Regions from separate parts of the Homo sapiens genome. Here region 1 is linked to region 2. The links are contacts of gene promoters, found by promoter capture Hi-C in blood cells and fetal thymus (Javierre and others, 2016). All regions are on one chromosome and are shown on one strand. Each heading gives the region's core, a stretch centred on a gene start or on the middle of the fragment in contact. The rest is flanking DNA. Distances are from core to core; before and after follow the strand shown. Region 1 has its middle 5.6 kb from the start of ZC3H8. Region 2 holds the start of POLR1B (RNA polymerase I subunit B).

Evidence for each region. The method cuts DNA at HindIII sites, captures the fragments that hold promoters and counts their contacts. A CHiCAGO score of 5 or more calls a contact.
Region 1: a fragment that was not itself captured here is called in contact with the fragment with the promoter of POLR1B in region 2 in 6 of 17 cell types (fetal thymus, total B cells, naive B cells and 3 more); the score reaches 9.0 in fetal thymus.

The regions. Positions count from the first base shown.
Region 1 is chr2:112,257,509-112,263,835 of GRCh38, reverse strand. No RefSeq gene overlaps it. Among named protein-coding and RNA genes, the nearest start is that of ZC3H8, 5.6 kb to the right of the region's middle. The HindIII fragment of the contact is 4,833 bases long and covers 1-4,250 here.
Region 2 is chr2:112,538,595-112,544,729 of GRCh38, reverse strand. It overlaps POLR1B (RNA polymerase I subunit B), which reads right to left and starts at 2,265. Exons shown (of 15, transcript NM_019014.6): 1 at 2,059-2,265. The coding sequence starts at 2,235. It overlaps TTL (tubulin tyrosine ligase), which reads right to left. Exons shown (of 7, transcript NM_153712.5): 7 at 2,991-6,135. It overlaps LOC105373562 (a long non-coding RNA gene), which reads left to right and starts at 2,518. Exons shown (of 2, transcript NR_136321.1): 1 at 2,518-2,527; 2 at 2,652-3,074. RefSeq lists an enhancer at 2,233-2,382. The HindIII fragment of the contact is 8,470 bases long and covers 1,482-6,135 here.

The DNA of each region.
Region 1 (6,327 bases), core at 585-3,084, 280 kb after region 2:
TTATTGTCTTCTGGATTCCCTTGTTGCAGCTGTGAAGACAGCTGGCAGTCTAATTGTCATTATTCTGAAGGTAAACTTTTAAAACTTTTCTGTGGCTATTTTACATATTTTCTCTGCTTTTCTGTAGTTTCAGTATGGTGTGTCTTAGTATGGATTTCTTTTAGTTATCCTGCCTAGTATTTGTTTAATGCTTGATCTGTAAATTGCTGAGTTTCAACAATCTGGAAAAGTCTGTCTTTTCTTTTCTTTCTTTTTCTTTTTCTCTTTTCTTTTCTATTTTTTTTGAGACAGAGTCTCACTCTGTCACCCAGGCTGGAGTGCAGTGGCACAATCTTGGCTTACTGCAACCTCCGCCTCCTGGGTTCAAGTGATTCTCCTGCCTCAGCCTCCCGAGTAGCTGGGATTACAGGTGTGGGCCACCATGCCTGGCTATTGCGTATTTTTAGCAGAGACAGGGTTTCACCATGTTGGCCAGGCTGGTCTTGAACTCCTGACCTCAAGAGATCCACCTGCCTTGGCCTCCCAAAGTGCTGGGAATATAGACATGAACCACCACACCTGGCCAGCCTTTTCTTTTCAAATATGTCCTCCTCCTCTTTCTTTTTTTCTTCTCTTCTTATTATTAGTTATATGTTAGACATTTAAATCTATTATTTATGTTTTTATAATAATCTCTTTTGTAACTTCCCTTTTTTGGGTGGCAGTCTCTCTATGATGTACTCTGGATAATTTCTTCTGACTTATCTTCCAGTTCACTAATTTTCTTTTAAACCCTGTCTACTCTATTAAAGCCATCTTATTACTCAAAGTCTAATTGGATAATCAGAATCACTAGAAGATAAATAAATAGATAGATGACAGATGATAGCTAGCTAGATTTACAGGGATTTGACCTTATGCAATTGTGGGAGCTGTTTAAAACAGTCTGTAAAGCTCTTGTCTGATATTGGAGCTTCAGAGCTGCAAGGTGGGGCCAGGCACAGCGGCTTATGCCTATAATCCCAGTACTTTGGGAGGGTGAAGTAGGAGGATTGCTGAGGCCAGGAGTTTGAAACCAGTCTGGGCAACACAGTGAGACCCCATGGGAGTGCAGTGAGCTATAATTGTGCCACTGATGAAGCAAGACTTTGTCTAAAAAACTTTTAAGACCTGCAAGGCACATATTCAGGAAGGGAAGTTGGATGTAAAGTGGGGGAGAATGAAGACAATCTAGAATCCCTGAGCATAAACCCAGAACCTGTATTAATCTGCTCTACTTTAATGACGTAGGTGTTGTGCAGGAGACTCTTGAGCCCTTTATCGTGGAACTAAAGACATGCTTGGCCCAGAATTTAGAAAATCTGAAGGAGGATCTGGGGTGAGTTATATCAGGTCTTGTTGTTGTCCCATATCAACAAGGTAAACCAGTAAACAACAATGTGCATGAGTTGCAATAGCATCTTCTGCCCCTTCACTGACCTCCTGAATGTAAAAAGCAATATGGCTGCTGTTTTACCTCCACCTCCCAAATTTTATGCAAAATCTATCTTGTGGTCCACCCTAACTAGAAATATGCAGGATAAGAATCCTGGAAAACATGGGTTAGCCTACCTAAGATGACATGTTACAAAATCACCAAGTATACACTAAGATGACATATTACAAAATCATCGAGTATACACTTATTTTTTTTTGAGACAGAGTCTTGCTCTGTCACCAGGCTGGAGTGCAGTAGCGCGATATCGGCTCACTGCAACCTCTGCCTCCCGGGTTTAAGCGATTCCCCTGCCTCAGCTTCTTGAGTAGCTGGGACTACAGGAGCCTGCCACCACGCCTGGCTAATTTTTTGTATTTCAGCAGAGATGGGGTTTCACCATGTTGGCCAGGATAGTCTCCATCTCCTGACCTCGTGATTCGCCCACCTCGGCCTCCCAAAGTGCTGGGATTACAGGCATGAGCCACTGCGCCTGGCCCAAGTATACACTTTTTAACTAGGTACCTATAAATATCTCTTTAACCCATATTTAGTTTTCAGATAAAAGCAATAGCAAAGTCATGCCTCTGCCTAACATGATGCACCAATCCCCCATTCAACCAAAAACATGCTACCCATTTTCCCAAGAAAGGATAAAAAGTCCCTTTTTCACTTTTGGGTGATGTTCATTCTTCTTTGAATTCTTTTTTTAGCTCAGTCACATGCCTCCTTTTATATCCTATAACTTAAATAGAGATATAAAGTTAACTACTATTAACATATTTTGTGTTAGATGGTAGGGGAATAGTAGAAGGGAAAATTTTAAATATATGTGTGTGTGTGTCTATGTGTGTGTAATTCCACACACATATTTCCACAAATTTATATCAAATTAAGAATGATATATTCATAAATATTGCAATCATTTTTGCTACTGGTCATGTAGTTGGGAAGCAGCATCATTCGTCTGGGGTAATTCCTTAGGTTCATTGTCTCATGCCAAGGAAATCGAGGATTCGGACACACAAGGACGGAGTTTAAGAGCAGAAGTTTAATAGGTGAAAGAAAGAGAAAAGCTGCCTCATGCAGAGGAAGGGGTCCCCAACATTTCCAGGTTCAGGGAGAGATGTGGGTGGTTTTATAGATGAGCTTGAGGAGCTGGTATCTGATTTACATAGGGTGCAAAGGATTGGTTGGACCAGGTGCGCCATTTACATGGTGCTTGAAGAAGCTAGCAACCCCACCCTAATCTTTTATTATGCAGATAGGTTTGCTACCTGGCTGGTGCCATGTTGCCTGTTCCCTGACTGTACATGTGGTGACAAAGAAAAGGGAAGATGGAGCCTCCATGTTGGATATGCCTGGCTCCTAGGTAGCCCTTTTCTATTGGCACAGCTGCCAGCATTTACCTCTGCAAGGTTCTAGCTTGCTTTTCTACGTCTGCTGCTTGATTTTTCAGGCTGCTCTTTGTTAGAAATGATTTTGGAGCTGCTTTTTTATTAAAAGGGAAACCTTACTGAGGACTCGCTTGCCCTCACTAACAGCCTAAACAATTTCTTTTAAGCTCCTGTATCAGTTGCAGCTGATATTTGTACAACTACCTTCTGCTCCTACTCTTTGCCGTGTTCTCTTTGCTCTCCCAAGCTGGTCTTGACTCCTTGCTGGGCGTGAGGCAGGAGAATAGGGTCTGGAAGCAGGGAACTTAAGGCCAATTCGTGCTGAATCAAGGAAAAACACCAAGGTCTGGGGGCAGGGAATCTGAGGCCAATTCACGCTGACTTCCCAAAGCTGGATCAAAAGGAAAACACCTGGGTCTGGGGGAAGGGATCCTAAGGCCAATTACTGTAAATATCCTAAAGCTGAACCAAAAGGAACCCCCCCTTCCCATCTCCTCACACCAGAGTAGCAAAGGATCAAAGGCTACTCTCCCTACAACTCTCCCCCATCTACCACATCTCAGATGGAAAAGGAAAGTGCCCTGGATTGGCCGAGGGCCTGGCAGGGACCATCGCTTCATCTACATAGGGCACCAATTCACCTCAGCCTTTAATTAGCCAGAGACCAAATCCTTCATCTATAAGCACCTCAAAAGGAGTACTTAAAACCCAGAAAACTTTGCAACTGGGCCCTTGAGCTGCTTGCTCTGGCCCATTCCCACCCTGTGGAGTGCTTTCTCGCTTTAATACATTCCTGCTTTTGCTGCTTCGTCCCTGTGTTTCATTCCTTTGTTACTTTGTGCGTTTTGTCTAATTCTTTGTTGAAAACACCAAGGACCACCACAACTTACACTCAAGTGCCCTCCTGATAACAGGTGGATAACCCAAACCTTCATGCCTGAAGGGTTTGGGGCACTTTCAGTGCTGCCTGTGGTGGTGGTGTTTTCTATTAACTTTAATCATAGAGCATAGGATTACTTAGTCTCCCGCCCAGGAAATCAGCTGCATCCTAGACATACTCTTCCTTAACATCATTATGTAGTCAGGATAACTTGATAGTTAGGATTAATCACCCCTGCCAATACAGTAAGCCCCTTCTTTACCTGTTAATTCACTGGCATGAGGATCCTAAGGTGGCCAAACGGCAGTCTCAACCTCAAGTTTAATGGACTCATTGTCACGCCCCTTGATGCAAACATTCCTACTTTTGGGATTAACGCTACACCGGTGGTTCTCAAGTGAGGACGATTTTGCTCCCCGCAGAGGACATTTGGCAATGTCTGGAGACATTTTGGGTTGCCACAACTGGGGAACAGCTGCTACTGACACCTAGCGGCAGAGGCCAGGGATGCTGCCAAGCTTCCTACAATGCGCAAGACCGTCCCCAATTATCCAGGCCGAAATGACAATAATGTTACGGTTGAAAAAGTCTGCTCTAAACCAGCAGAGCCCAAAGTTGTGGAGATAGGCAGCAAACATTATTCTAGGGCATCACTAGGAATAATACAGAGAGGACCTACTCCCACTTGGAAGCCTTGATTCCCAGACCCTGTGTATACTGGCTATGGGAGAAACAGCACCATGTATTGGTGATTGTTGATTTATAGCACATACTCATAAGGTATTATATCTAGCTCATACTGGAGCTGAGTTATCACAGGCCATTTCACCATTTTAACATGCCAACTGCTTTATTTTATTTTGGTAAAAGAAATATAAAATTTGCCATTTCAACTTTTTTTTTTTTTTGAGACGGAGTCTCACTCTGTTGCCCAGGCTGGAGCGCAATGGCACCATCTCGGCTCACTACAACCTCTGCCTCTCGGGTTTCAGCGATTCTCCTGCCTCAGCCTCCCGAGTAGCTGGGATTACAGGTGCCCGCCACCACGCCTGGCTAATTTTTGGATTGTTAGTAGAGACGGGGTTTCACCATGTTGGTCAGGCTGGTCTCAAACTCCTGACCTCAGATGATCCACCTGCCTTGGCCTCCCAAAGTGCTGGGATTACAGGAGTGAGCAACTGTGTCTGACCAGCCATTTTTAAGCATATAATTCATTGGCATTAGTTACATTCACATTGTTGTGCAACCATCACCATTATGTATTTCCAAACTTTCCCATCACCTCAAGCAGAAATTCTGTCACTTTTAAGCAACAATTCCGTTTCACCCTCTCTCAGTCCCTGGTAACCTCTAATCTACTGTCTGTCTCTATACAATTCCCTATTGTAGATATTTCACGTAAGTGGAATCATACAATATTTGTCCTTTTGTGCCTGGCTTATTTAACTTAGCATACAGTTTTCAAAGTTCAGCTAGTATACAAAATTCAGTTCTGACAGCATGTATCAGAGCATCATTCCTTTTTATGGATAAATAATATCCTATGTGTATATCACATTTTATCCATTAATCAGTGGATGGACACTCGGTTTGTTTCTACCTTTTGGCTATTGTGAATAATGCTGCAATTAACATGAATGTACAAATATATGTTTCAGTCCCTGTTTTCAATTCCTTTGGGTATATACCTAGGAGTGGAATTGCTGGGTCATATGATAATTTTATGTTTAGGCCATCTGCTTTATAATAATAGGGAATTTCACTTTTCTATTGCTATAGAGGACAGCAAATTGGCCTAAAACTTTGTGGTTAAAAAAACAAACATTGATCTTCTTTATTATTATTATTATTTTTTGAGATGAAGTTTTGCTCTTCTTGCCCAGGCTGGAGTGCAATGGCGCGATCTCGGCTTACTGCAAACTCCGCCTCCTGGGTTCAAGCGATTCTCGTGCCTCAGCCTCCCAAGTAACTGGGACTACAGGCATGCGCCACCACACCCAGCTAATTTTGTATTTTTAGTAGAGACGGGGTTTCACCATGTTGGCCAGGCTGGTCTCAACCTCCTGACTTGAGGTGATCCACCTGCCTCAGACTCCCAAAGTGCTGGGATTACAGGCGTGAGCCACCACACCTGGCCCAACATTGATCTTCTTATATCCTCTGTGGGTCACGAATCTGCGAGCTGCTTAGCTGGGTGGTTCTGTCCCACAGTTTCTCACGGGATTGCTGTCGAGATGTCTTCTGGCTTGCTTAGTGCTGGGAGATCTGTTTCCAAGGTACCTCACCCACATGGCTGGCTCTCCACAGGCTGCCTGAGTGATTCATGACATGGTGACTGACTTCCCTTCATGCAGATGATTCAAGAGAATAAGGCAGAAACTACAATGTCTTCTTATGACCTCAGAAATCATGCATCATCACTTTTGCCACATTGTATTTGTTAGAAATAAATAAGTAAATCCTATCCACATTAAAGAAGAGGGGACTAAATCTCCAACTTTTGCAGGGAGAAGTGTTAAGGAATTTTTGAACACATTTTAATATGACCACACCATCCACTGATTTTTTTTTTTTTTTTTTGAGATGGAGTCTCACTC
Region 2 (6,135 bases), core at 1,016-3,515:
TATTTATGTTACTGTGTTTTACAGAACTTTTTCAAATACTATATTATTATAGTCCTAGCTAAGTTGTGGCATCATTTTCTATGCAGGGCCAAATTTTCTTCATCTACTTCAACCAAAACAATTATCACAAGGGACTGAATGCACAAGCAGACATGAGAATCCAGCTGTCTTTTCATTAAGCCAGACATTAAAAAGATTTTTAATAATGCAATTCATCTAACTTCTTTTTTGCTTTGGAAAATATTTTTCTTAAAAATGTTAACATATAATTGGTTTATTTATTTATGTATTTATTTTTTTGGGAGAGTCTCACTCTGTCACCCAGGCTGGAATGCAGTGGTGCAATCTTGGCTCACTGCAACCTCCGCCTCCCAGGTTCAAGCGATTCTCGTGCCTCAGCCTCCTGAGTAGCTGGGATTACAGACATGTGCCACCATGCCCGGCTAATTTTTGTATTTTTTAGTAGAGATGGGGTTTCACCAGGTTGGCCAGGCTGGTCTGGAACTCCTGACCTCAAGTGATCCACCCGCCTTGACCTCCCAAAGTGCAGGGATTACAGTCAAGAGCCACCACACCCAGCCGACTGGCTTATTTTTAAATTAGTGCTTTTCTAAAATTTCTCAATTGGATTTTTTTTTTTTAAAGACAGGTCTCACTCTGTTACCGAGGATGGAGTGCAGCGGCACAATCATAGCTCATTGCAGCCTCAAATTCCTGGGTTCAACTTATCCTCCCACCTCAGCCTCCCGAGTAGCTGGGACCAGCTACTTGGGTGCGCACCACCATGCCCCACTAATTTTTAAATTTTTGTGGAGATGGGGTTTCACTATGTTATCCAAGCTGGTCTTGAAATCCTGGGCTCAAGTCATCCTTCTGCCTTGGCCTCCCAAAGTCCTGGATTACAGGTGTGAGCCACTGCACCCAGCCCGATTAACTTTTAATTAGGAATTTTTTCTCACAGACATGATACTGTAACAATCCAGGCACAATACAAATAACCCCCACCCCTCTAGTCTTTCTAAACAATAAATCTTAATGGCTCCCATATTATTTGCCGAATAGAGTTCAAGAATCAGACTGGCAATCAAAGCTCTCCACATTATCTGTATCCCTATCTCCCACAACACAAATCTTACCCAACAAAACCACAGGTAGGGTCCCCGAAGCATGTGACTCTGCTCTACTCTTCCCCTGGACGAAATGCACGTTTCTCACTTCTTGAACTCATCTAATCCTGCCCTTTCTCAAACTCCTGGATTAGTTGCGCCGCCCATAGGCTCCCGCAGTAGCCCACACAATCCCTTGGCAGAGCAGTTCTCAAGAACATTGGCATGCACTGCTTTCATTATCTTCACCCCTTCAACCCCCAAACACGACAGGGAGCACTTAAATGCATGAACTGTCTCGTACACGGGACTGCCTCCTCCACATCCTCTGAGCCTAGTGCCTGGAGACACTGGGGATGCTTACTAAACGAAGCTTTCCCCCACCATACTCACTTGAATTCTGCTACCATTACTCTACGCTAATAATGCAATTACACTTTTCGATTCAATCTTGCTTTCATGACTCATTTATACCTTCCTCGGCACCTGCTTAATTCATAACAAATGACGAGTAGTTTCTCTCTTTAAAGCTCTAAGAGAAGGAAACTGAAGGATAACCTTGAACATTACACTGTACCTACAAATACGTTCGGGATCTTTCGAGGTACGTTTTGGAGAGGTAAGTCTTCAAGTGATATAAAGCCGTGTGCATTGTGAAGCACATCCCCAGATAAGCCACTTCCTCACTCTCACAGCACCCCGAAACTGTCCAAACTACGGTTCACAATCACTTTTCACTCCAGAATCACGAATACATCTCTTAAGACGCCTCGACTCCAAGTCTCACGAAGGCCAGTACCGCGTCCTGTTTAACATGTTGTGCTCTCCCGCTTACCCACCAAGCCTGTCAGGATCAAGGAGCACATGCATCTGGGGTCATACTGTGACCTCCCAGCCACCTCCCTGGGATTGGCCTCGCCGCGGCAAGGGCGCCGGCGGACGCCGCGCTCACCTGCACCGCGAGGCCGAGACCCTCGTGCACAGCGTAGTTGAAGGACTCCACGTGCGCCCGCGTCAGCTCCTGCAACGCTGCCTTTTGCTGTTCCCGCGGGATTCCATAAGAGGGGTCAGTCAAGTGCTTTAGGCTAGGCCCGCTGGGCAGGTTCCGCCACCGGCTGCCAGGATCCATGTGGCCACCTGCACACCGGACGCCAGTCTCTCGGTACACGCCGGACGCCAGTCTCTCGGTACACGCCGGAAGTAGTGGCCGCAGTCCCGTTTCCGCAGCCTGCTGGGAAATGTAGTTCCCTCTCGTTCCACCCGCCCTAGGCCCTGCGGTTTCGGTTTCTCGGGGTCAACGTAGAACCAAAAACGTCGAGTGAACGGGCCGATTAAGGCCGTGTCCAGCCAGAGCGTGGCGGGCCCTCCCTTTCTCCCATATTCCGCCCCACTCATCTCCCCGCTCGCGAAAGATGCCGCAGGTGGAAACCCGCTCCCCGCCCAGTTGAGCATGTGACCTCTTTGGCTCTCATTGGCTCAGTCAATTAGGATCGGAGGAGAGCGGTCTTCTCAGGCTCTCTTCTGTTTCCCTTCACCTGTTCCCAGTCCCACGCTGATGCCGACCCTGGGGAGTCATCCGGCCAAAGTCGTTGCTTCAACGAAAAAGCGGATGCCGGGCCCCGGGCTGACTCTCTACCCAACTCCTAACTCGCGAGGCTCACCCCTGGGAAGCCAAGGAGTGGTCGGGCCCCGCTAACCTCGTCGCATCTTCCGGACTGGAGGCCTGGGGGAGGCCTGGGGAAGGAGGTGGGAGAGGAGTCGGGCGGTCCCGGATGGAGGGGATGGGGCAGCGGGGCGTCCAACTGGATTTACAGCCTGAATTTCTTTTGCGTTCCTGTGAGCCCCTTACCTCCCCAGAATACTGATTAATCAGGGAATGCCTGCTGGTTTTTCAACTTTATTGTGTTTGTGTTTAACAGCTATATTGCGTTATAACTGGCATACAATAAACCACACATTTAAAGTGTACGCGTTAAGTTTTGACCTATGTATACAACCATGCAGCCATCACCACAATTAAAACAATGAATTAAACCACCACTACCCAGTATCCTCCTGCCCCTGATAGTCCCTCCTTACTGTCAACTTCCCCTTTCCTAGTTCAGCTGGTACTTTTCATTCCTATATCACTTTTTATAAAAAATTCGAGCCGGGAGTCTGTTGCACAGGCTGGTCTTGAACTTCCGGCCTCTAGTGATCCTCTCGCCTTGCCTCCCTAAATGCTGGGATTACAGGCATGAGCCACCGCGCGCGCCCGGCCAACTGAGTAGTTGTAGTTCTTTATATAGCCTATACTAGTCCTTGTCAGATCCATGATTTGCAAATATTTTTCTCCCATTCTGTGGGTTTTTACTTTCTTGCTGGTGTCCTTTGAAGCAAAACGTTTTAATTTTGAAGTGTAGTTTTTTTCTTTTGTTGCCTGTCTTTTTATATCATATCTAAGACATCATTGTGTAATCCAAGGTCATGAGGATTTAAAAAAAAATTTATGGGTACATAATTAGCATATTTATGAGGTATATGAGATGTTTTCATATAGGCATACGATGTAATCATCACAGGAGGGTAGATGGGGTTTCCATCACCTCAAGCATTCATCATTTCTGTCATGAACATTCCAATTGTACTTCCTCAGTTATTTTTGAAGGTACAACAAATTATTGCTGACTGCAGTCACCCTGTTGTGCTATCAAATACTAGATATTTTTCAATCATGGGGATTTTCACCTATATTTTCTACTAAGAGTTTTGTAGTTTCAACTCTTACATTTAAGTCTTTGACTCATTCTGAGCTAATTTTTGTATATGGTGTGAGAAAGGCATATCACTTTATTCCTTTGCATGTGGATATCCAGTTGTCCTAACACCATTTGTTAAAAAGACTATTCTTTCCCTCATCAAATTGTCTTGGCCTCCTTGTCGAAAATCAGTTCACTATAGATGCAAGGGTTTATTTTTGACTCTCAGTTCTATTCTCTTGATCTGTATGTCTATCTACATTTATCTGTATATCTGTCTACAAACTACACAGATTTGATTAATACAGCTTTGTAATAAATTTTGAAATCAGGAAGTGCACATCCTCCAACTTTGTTCTTCTTTCTCCAGATTTATTTGATCCTTTGTATTTCAATATGGATTTTAGCGTCAGCTTAGCTTGTCAATTTCTTTCTCTTTTTTTTTTTTTTTTGTTTTTTGTTTTTTTGAGACAGAGTTTTGCTCTTGTTGCTGAGGATGGAGTGCAGTGGCATGATCTTGGCTCACTGCAACCTCTACCTCCTGCCTCAGCCTCCCAAATAGCTGAGATTACAGGCATGCACCACCATGCCTGGCTAATTTTGTATTTTTAATAGAGACAGGGTTTTACCATGTTGGCCAAGCTGGTCTTGAATTCCTGACCTCAAGTAATCCATCTGCCTTGGCCGCCCAAAGTGCTGGGATTACAGGTGTGAGCCACCACACCCGGCCCAGCTTGTCAATTTCTGCAAAGAAGGCTGAGATTCTTGATCAGGATTGTGTTCAATTGGTAGATCAATTTGGGGCCTATTTTCATCCTAACAATAATTATCTCCCAATCCATAAACATGGGATGTCTTTCCATTTATTTAGGTGTTCTTTAATTTCTTTCAGAGATGTTTTGTAGTATTTGGTGTAGAAATGAACTTTTGTTAAATTTATTCCTAAGTATTTCATTCTTTTTGGTGTTGATATAAATGGAATTGTTTTCTTAACTTCAAATTGTTTGTAATATGTAGAAATACCATTGAGTTTTGTATATTGATCTTGTGTCTGGCAATCTTGCTAAACTCTTTATTAGTTCTAACAGCGTAAGTGGATTTCTTAGGACTTTTTCTATATGGTATCTTGTCGTCTGCAAAGAGAGATCATCATACTTCTCCCTTTCCAATCTGAATGCGCAGTCTTCTTTCCTTCCTTTTGTCGAATTGCTCTGTCTAGAACATTTAATACAATGTTGAAGTGACAAGAATAAATATACTTGTTTTGTGCCTGATATTGGGAAGAAAGCTCCCAACTGGAGCTTTCACATCACCATTAATATGATGTAGGCTGTGGGTTTTTCCAAAGATGCTCTTTATCATGTTGAGGAAGTAATTTATTTCTAGTTTGTTGAAAGGTTTTTTCCAAGAAAGAGTGTTGTGTATTGCCAAATGCTTTTTCAGTGTATATTGAAATGATCATGTGCTTTTTGTCCTCTTTTTTCTATTAAAGTGGTATATTATATTAAGTAAATTTTGTATGTTAAAAAAACCTTGCATTCTTTCTTTTCCCCTTCTCAACGTTTATTTTAGAATCAGGGGGGTACATGTGCGAATTTGTTACAAAGGTATATTGGGTGATGCTGAGGTCTGGGGTATGGTTGAACCTGTCACCCAGGTAGCGAGCACAGTATCCAATAGGTAGTTTTCAATCTTTGCTCCCCTCCTTCTCTCCTGGCTCTAGTAGTCCCCAGTGTCTGCTGTTCCCATCTTTTTTTTTTTTTTTTTTTTTTTTAGACAGAGTCTCTGTCACCCAGGCTGGAGTGCAGTGGCGCAATCTCGGCTCACTGCAACCTCCGCCTTCCAGGTTCAAGTGATTCCCCTGCTTCAGCCTCCTGAGTAGCTGGGATTACAGGCGCCTGCTACCACGCCCGGCTAATTTTTTGTATTTTTAGTGGAGACGGGGTTTCACCATATTAGCCAGGATGGTCTTGATCTCCGGACCTCATGATCCGCCCGCCTTGGCCTCCCAAAGTGCTGGGATGACAGGCGTGAGCCACCGCGACTGGCCTCTTCCCAACTTTATGTCCATGTGTACCCAATGTTTAGCTCCCACTTTTTAATTTTTTTGAGACAGGACTTGCTCTGTCACCTAGGACAGAGAGCAGTTGTGCGATCTCTGCTCACTGCAACCTCCTCTTCTCAGGTTCAAGCGATTCTTGTGCCTCAGCCATCAGAGTAGCTGGGATTACAGGCATGCACCACCATGCCTGGCTAATTCTTGTATTTTTTATAGAGACCAGATTTAATCA